2 separate regions of the Homo sapiens genome follow, and region 2 is linked to region 1. Evidence: promoter capture Hi-C in 16 types of primary human blood cells and fetal thymus (Javierre and others, 2016). All regions are on one chromosome and are shown on one strand. Each heading gives the region's core, a stretch centred on a gene start or on the middle of the fragment in contact. The rest is flanking DNA. Distances are from core to core; before and after follow the strand shown. Region 1 holds the start of LIMK2 (LIM domain kinase 2). Region 2 holds the start of THOC5 (THO complex subunit 5).

What was found. Contacts are between HindIII fragments. The CHiCAGO score rates a contact against its expected background, and 5 or more counts as called.
Region 2: a fragment that was not itself captured here is called in contact with the fragment with the promoter of LIMK2 in region 1 in 1 of 17 cell types (fetal thymus); the score reaches 5.6 in fetal thymus.

Annotation. Positions count from the first base shown.
Region 1 is chr22:31,210,977-31,214,634 of GRCh38, forward strand. It overlaps LIMK2 (LIM domain kinase 2), which reads left to right and starts at 1,322. Exons shown (of 16, transcript NM_005569.4): 1 at 1,322-1,448. The coding sequence starts at 1,433. RefSeq lists enhancers at 863-1,042, 2,005-2,930 and a silencer at 1,023-1,422. The HindIII fragment of the contact is 1,589 bases long and covers 830-2,418 here.
Region 2 is chr22:29,551,927-29,555,703 of GRCh38, forward strand. It overlaps THOC5 (THO complex subunit 5), which reads right to left and starts at 1,831. Exons shown (of 20, transcript NM_003678.5): 1 at 1,745-1,831. It overlaps NIPSNAP1 (nipsnap homolog 1), which reads right to left. Exons shown (of 10, transcript NM_003634.4): 10 at 2,882-3,777. RefSeq lists enhancers at 1-653, 2,051-2,748, 2,132-2,201 and a silencer at 1,542-1,731. The HindIII fragment of the contact is 471 bases long and covers 1,800-2,270 here.

The DNA of each region.
Region 1 (3,658 bases), core at 72-2,571:
TCTGACCGGCATCCGGTTTGAATTAGAGCAGGAAGGAAGAGAATTGTGCTCGCCTTTGTCTTTGCCTTTGCCTTTGCTTACCCAACTGCTGGGACCAGAGGCAGCTGGGTTGAACTTTGTCTTTGGTCAGGGGTGGGGGTGGAGGGGACAGAATCCATTTCCCTGGGCTCCATCCTCTTTCTGGTCATTTGGACATGTTTCCTGTGATCTAAATCTGATGTAAGGAAATGACAATTGTGAAAGACCCAGCGTGAGAGAATCTGATGGGAGGGTGGGTCATCAGGGACCAGCTGGCCTGGCTGATGATGTATTAATATCTTAATCACACAGAGGACCCCAATCTCCTTCCAAACCTAATGAGCGGAAGTGGTTCTCAAAGCTACTCAGCCAGCTAGCAGCTGCCATAACCCAGTCAGCTGTCCTAACTCTTAGTCCTGTAATCCCTCCTCCTCATAGAAGATTGTAAACTGGCAGCCCACAGGGCAAATCTAGTGGCCAGGTGTGTTTCATTTGGTCTACATGGCATTTTAAGAACTTTTTGATGCTATCAACATTTTTTAAAAGTGGCAAATTTCACCTAAATATCTGGATTTTTGGCATGTTTTGAAAGGTTGGAAGACCTGGGAATGGTAGGCCCATGTTCCTGCAGGGGAGTGCTCGTCTTCCAATGCGGCGCACAAGCTCCAGCGTCCTGCGCTAAACCTAATTGGCCTGGCTGAGGATCTGCTCCTGGAATGCTGGTTGGTCGCCTCCAACTGTCTTTGACTTAGAGATTATTTACTGTCAGCTTACTCATAGTGGCGCAGAGAAGTGGTTTCTCTGAGCTAGAAGCTTCTAAGAAAAGTCCATCCTCAAAGCTGTTTGTGGGATAGACCTGGCTCCTCCATTGTAATATTCCTGATTCCAAACACTACTGGAAAGAGCTCTGAACTGGCAGTTAGCAGGCCTGGGCTCCCATCCCGGCTCTCCTCCTAATGAGCGAAGCCATTTCAATGTAGTCGAACTTAGCCTCTGATCCTTAACTTTCCCTATCTGTAAATGAGGGCGACTAGATGGGTGCGGACTGTCATCCGTGTTGAGACTTCCGGCCCCCGCAGAATCAACCTTACCGGCGGGAGCACCTCGAGGGGACGCCGCTCGCACTAGGGGGCGCCAGGGCCGCTGCAGAGCCCGAGCCAGAGCCAGGGGGCGGGGCCGCGTCTCGGGAGCGAGGCCTGAGAGCGGCGGGGCGGGGCGTCGGCGGGCAGTCCCCTGTGCCAGGTGTGGTTTGGTCCTCCCAGGGCGCCGTAGGCGGTGCATCCCGTTCGCGCCTGGGGCTGTGGTCTTCCCGCGCCTGAGGCGGCGGCGGCAGGAGCTGAGGGGAGTTGTAGGGAACTGAGGGGAGCTGCTGTGTCCCCCGCCTCCTCCTCCCCATTTCCGCGCTCCCGGGACCATGTCCGCGCTGGCGGGTAAGGAAGGGCTGCTCCGCCCTGTCCCGCTGTTATCTCCGAAGTCCGGTTCCATGGCGCCTGAGGGAAACCGGCTGTCTCTCGGGGGTTTCGGGCTGGTTGGGTCCTCGTGGGTCCGAGCTCCTCAGAAAAGCTGGGAGGCGGGGTGGGCACAGCGCTCCCCAGGCATTTGGAGGGTGGGACTCCGGGAATGGGGAGGCAGGGCATCCTGGAGACAGAGGGCTCCGAGGGGCAGGCGGGTTGGGAGGCTTCCCGCGAGTTGAGGTCCCGGGGAGGAAGAGATTCTGGGTCTGCCAGGAATCCAGCTTTTTGGAGGGACCTGGCGGCCGCAGACCCCCAAATTAACCCTTTTTAAGGAAGTTGAAAAGCATGGGGTTCTCTTATAGTGGAAGCTCTGTGGAATTTGAGGAGTACAGGATCCTCTAGGGTTCAGGACAATTAGGAGAGTTACCCCGGGTTCTGGGTTTTCTGAGGGAAATGGAGGATGTGACTTCCCTGCCAAGACCCAAGGCTTCTCGCGGGCATCTTGGTGTCTGGGAGTCCCCCGGGGCTGGGAGCTCTTTGCAGAAAATAAGGGAGTATGGAGCCCCTTGAGGTTTAGGACAGGACTAAGGGTAAGGAGAGATCGGACCATTCTTTTTGGGGCCCAAAGATCTCTGCTACAGGTGGCGAAAGTAGGCCACCTGGGGTTCTGAGTCCTCCTGTGGAAGCTCCCTTGGCCTCTCTAGACTAAAGACTAGAGGGATTCGGCCAAACACCTCCTGGAAGGAAGAGTTGTCTAAGGGTGAAGGGTAGCTTCAGAGTTGGGTTAGTTGCACCTGCAGTCACCTCCCCGCCACCTCACACACCACCCTGCAGCTTCCTGCCTTCCCCATCTTTTCCCCCAGCAGTAGGAACCTTCTGTCTCCTATGTTTCCCAGCCACCTGTGTGGGTGGCCCACCTCTGGGTCCACCAGGGTCAGCGTCCAGAAGCTTTGGAGAGGCGGCAAGAGGGTATTGAGGTGGAGGGGGGCTGGCTATCTGCCCCCTGCTTCCTGGCTTTCCGTCTGTGGACAGTCACTTCCTTCATCTTGAATGCAAGGACTGGGCTACCAGTGGGTCACTTCCTCAGCAAGGGAGCATGGGATTTTCTCTTCACTGGTGATAACAGACTTCTGGAGAGAGCTAGGGGTGGAAATGCCTAAAACAAATTTTTTTAGGCTGGGCGTGGTGGCTCATGCCTGTAATCCCAGCACTTTGGGAGGGCAGGGCAGGAGGATCGCTTGAGTCCAGGAGTTTGAGACCAGCTTGGGCAATATAGCGAGACTTCATCTCTTAAAAACAAAACCTTGTCTCTTAAAAAAGATTTTTTTTAAGCTTACAGAGTCCTTCAACTCGAATGATTTCCAGTAACTTTTTTTTTTTTTTCTTAGATGGAGTCTTGCTCTGTCGCCCAGGCTGGGGTGCAGTGGCACAATCTTGGCTCATTGCAACCTCTGCCTCCCGGGTTCAAGCGATTCTCCTACCTCAGCCTCCCGAGTAGCTGGGACAACAGGGGCCCGCCACCACGCCCGGCTAATTTTTTTGGTATATTTAGTAGAGATGGGGTTTCACCATATTGGCCAGGCTGGTCTTGAACTCCTGACCTTGTGATCCGCCCGCTTCGGCCTCCCAAAGTGCTGGGATTACAGGCGTGAGCCACCGCACCCGGCCGATTTCCAGTAACTTTTTCTAACAGCTGTGTAATATAGGTTGCCTGTCTTGAACCCTGTTTCTTAGAAAATTGTGAAAGGTTTCACAGTACAATAGTCTAGAGGCATAAAGCCTCTAGATGCATTAGTTTATGCATTCTTTCTTTCATTCAAAGAATATTTGTTGGATTCTTCTGTGTCATATACTTAGCCAAATGCTGAGTACAGTGGTGACATAGTTCTTGGCTTTGTGGTGCTTAATAATCCTAGAGATGGACAATAAATAATTGTAACAATTGCAATAAATGCTATAATAGTTAAGGTAAACAATTGAGATAAGTGCTGTAAGAGTGCACCAGGGGTGAGGGTTTTCTCTACTTTTTTTTCTGTTTTGGTAGAGACAGGGTCTCACTATGTTGCCCACGGTGGTTTCAAGCCATCCTCCTGTCTCAACCTCCCAAAGTGCTGGGATTACAGGCATGAACCACCATGCCCATCCTCTACTTTTTTTTTTTTTGAAGGGAATACTTTTCTTAAAAA
Region 2 (3,777 bases), core at 785-3,284, 1.7 Mb before region 1:
AGGCGCGCGCCGCCACGCCTGACTGGTTTTCGTATTTTTTGGTGGAGACGGGGTTTCGCTGTGTTGGCCAGGCTGGTCTCCAGCTCCTGACCGCGAGTGATCGGCCAGCCTCGGCCTCCCGAGGTGCCAGGATTGCAGACGGAGTCTCGTTCACTCAGTGCTCAATGGTGCCCAGGCTGGAGTGCAGTGGCGTGATCTCGGCTCGCTACAACCTCCACCTCCCAGCCGCCTGCCTTGGCCTCCCAAAGTGCCAAGATTGCAGCCTCTGCCCGGCCGCCACCCCGTCTGGGAAGTGAGGAGCGTCTCTGCCCGGCTGCCCATCATCTGGGATGTGAGGAGCCCCTCTGCCCGGCTGCCCAGTCTGGGAAGTGAGGAGCACCTCTTCCCGGACCCCATCCCGTCTAGGAAGTGAGGAGTGTCTCTGCCCGGCCGCCCATCATCTCAGATGTGGGGAGCACCTCTGCCCCGCCGCCCCGTCTGGGATGTGAGGAGCACCTCTGCCCGGCTGCGACCCCGTCTGGGAGGTGAGGAGCGTCTCTGCCCGGCTGCCCCGTCTGAGAGGTGAGGAGCCCCTCCACCCAGCAGCCGCCCCGTCCGGGAGGTGGGGGGCAGCCCCCGCCCGGCCAGCCGCCCCGTCCGGGGGGGAGGTGGGGGCCAGCCCCAGCCCGGCCAGCCGCCCCGTCGGGTCGGGGGTAGGGGGGCGCCTCCGCCTGGCCGCCACCCCGTCCGGGAGGTGGGGGGCGCCTCTGCCCGGCCGCCCCTTCTGGGAGGTGAGGAGCCCCTCTGCCTGGCCGCCACCCCGTCTGGGAGGTGTACCCAACAGCTCATTGAGAACGGGCCATGATGACGATGGCGGTTTTGTCTAGTAGAGAGGGGGGAAATGTGGGGAAAAGATAGAGAAATCGGATTGTTGCTGTGTCTGTGTGGAGAGAGGTGGACAAGGGAGACTCCATTTTGTTCTGTACTGAGAGAAATTCTTCTGCCTTGGGATGCTGTTGGTCTATAGCCTTACCCCCAACCCCGTGCTCTCTGAAACATGTGCTGTGTCCACTCAGGGTTAAATGGATTAAGGGCGGGGCAAGATGTGCTTTGTTAAACAGAAGCTTGAAGGCAGCATGCTCCTTAAGAGTCATCACCACTCCCTAATCTCAAGTACCCAGGGACACAAACACTGCGGAAGGCTGCAGGGTCCTCTGCCTAGGAAAACCAGAGACCTTTGTTCACTTGTTTATCTGCTGACCTTCCCTCCACTATTGTCCTATGACCCTGCCAAATCCCCTCTGCGAGAAACACCCAAGAATTATCAATAAATACTAAAACAAACAAACAAACAAATTTTTAATAAACGGTAGTAGAGGTGGTAAGTTGATCTGGCAAAGCCTACAAAGACCGGACCTGAAAGGCTTAAGTGTGGGAAATCCTGACTTTGGCAACACAGTAGAGTGCCTGGCACACCGAAGAGCACGATATATGTGAGCTGTTACCATCACCACCACCCCCACCCCCATCAGGCTACATTACCACAATCAAGAGGCTCCAACGTGAAGCCTGAGGATGCTGCAGCGAACACTTTTCGGATGAGGTAACAGCGCAGCGCCGAGAGGCCGGGGACCGCGGGTAGTGAGGGAGGAGAAGCCGGGTCAGACCCCAGCCCAGGGGCGCCCTTTGGGCGATCAGCACCTCAGTCCCGGAGCGCCCAGCCCCGCCCCATCTCCCAGCCCCACTGCCCTTGTCCCCTCCTCACCTCACAGCTCCAAGAACCTGGCACCGGGAGTAAGCCACTGCCGGAGGCGGAGCAAAGCTTGCCCGCGCACCATAGAGAACCGGAAGTAAGGAAGGGGCGGCCGACCGGAAGCGAGGCGTAGAGGCCGGAAGCTCAGCGCGGAGGCCCCCGAGGGAGGTGGTGGCGTGGTGAGACTGTAAAAACAAAGACACATGCTTCTCGTTCACTGTGCCCAGGGCCTAAGAGAGTGTCCAGCAGCTAGTGGGCGCTCCACCGAGTAGTTGAATTAATGTTGTGTTATGTCCAAGATAACACGAAAGAACCTGGTAGCGCGGCGGGGAAGATTTCGGCGCTAGAGGATTTGCCTGCATAACCTTACTTCTTAATTATTATTTTTACCATAATATGCCACGCCAGTGAAGGCAACAAGTCAGGGAGGGCATTAACCTCATTTTACACTTGGCTTTTTGAGGAGTGCATCACCAGTTTCTCCATTTTAGGCCTGACTTGCCCAGGACAGAGTCACAACTCTAACGCAGTATTTGAAAGCTTCAGGTATTTCCTACCCCTGGCATGAACTGTACAAACAAGGCCCAGGATTTTTTCGTGTAAATCCTCATCTGGAGCTAGTAACACGTGTCCTGAATCCCTGGTTGTACGGGGCCAGTTCCTTCTCCTTCCCAGGAGCAAGGAGGAAAATACTGGCTCTTTTTTATTTTTATTTTTATTTGAGACAGAGTTTTGCTCTCTCACCCAGGCTGAAGTGCAGTGGCGCAATCCCCGCTCACTGCAAACTCCGACTCCAGGGTTTAAAGGATTCTCCTGCCTCAGCCTCCTAAGTAGCTGGGATTACAGGCATGCACCACCATGCCCAGCTAATTTTTGTATTTTTAGTAGAGACAGGGTTTCACCATGTTGCCCAGGCTGGTCTTGAACTCCTGACCTCACTCAAGTGATCTGCCCACCTCGGACTTCCAAAATGCTGGGATTACAGGCGTGAGCCACTGCACCCAACCAGTACTGACTGTTGAGAATAGCTCAAGAACACAGTACCCTCCAGGAGGGTAGATCTGCCATGTGGGACTAAGCCCACCAGCTCTACTGTGCCCTGCCTCAGGCACCTGCTAAAGTTCCTTGCAGATGAAGAAAAGACACTGATTTATAGTAAATATTTAATTGTTTCCATCAGCAATTCCAGCACAAGTTTTCCTGGATGGTAGGCAGAATCAAGCTACCCAAGGGTTCATGATGAGGTATGGGGGTCACTGAGGAGACCCCCAGAGTCACTGACCCCTCCCGCCACCTCCACACACCAGGTGGCCCTGCAGAATGAGGGTTGGGCTGATAGAATGTCAATTAGGGGAGACAGGATACAGGGTGAGGGAACAGGGTCTAGCTTGTATATTTGCCTGCAGGAAGGAGGGAGGGCAGGAGAGACTCTGCATAGAAGGACTGGAACTACACATTTAAGTTTTCAACCCCAATATGCAGGGGGAAACAGCCAAGCCACTCTCCATCTGTCTAGTATTAGGAACCTCTCTTCAAGTGGTCTTTTGTCATCTCTGTTCTTCTTCCCAATTCTGTATTCCAGATTCCAAATTCTACAATTGAAACCCAAGTTCTGAATTCTAAGTTCTACCTTCCGAGTTCCTGTTACGTGTCTGTCTCCTGCCCCTAAATCTTTCCTGGCTCCCATCCCTTTCCCCAGCCCCTCTGGGCAGAATGTCTGAACCTCCTCCTGACCGTGGTGACGAGGTTTGTTTGTATTTGTTTTTTTGTTTTGGCAGTTCCAGGCTTTTCTCCAGCAGGAGGGACTTGGCTCAGACTGTCCAGCAAGTGGGTGGCCCAGTGGAAACCAGGGAATTCCTGAGGGCCTGGCCTGGCCTCCTCTCTTCCCACCCCACCTCTAGCCACTGGACATACTACCTTTTGTGCAACTAAGCTAAACAGAGGATTTCCAAGGGTGATAACTGGGGACTGGTGGCCTTGAGATGAGGAATTTTAGAAGATAAATGAAGGCCTAAAAGATCACTATCTTTCATTCAGGGAAATCA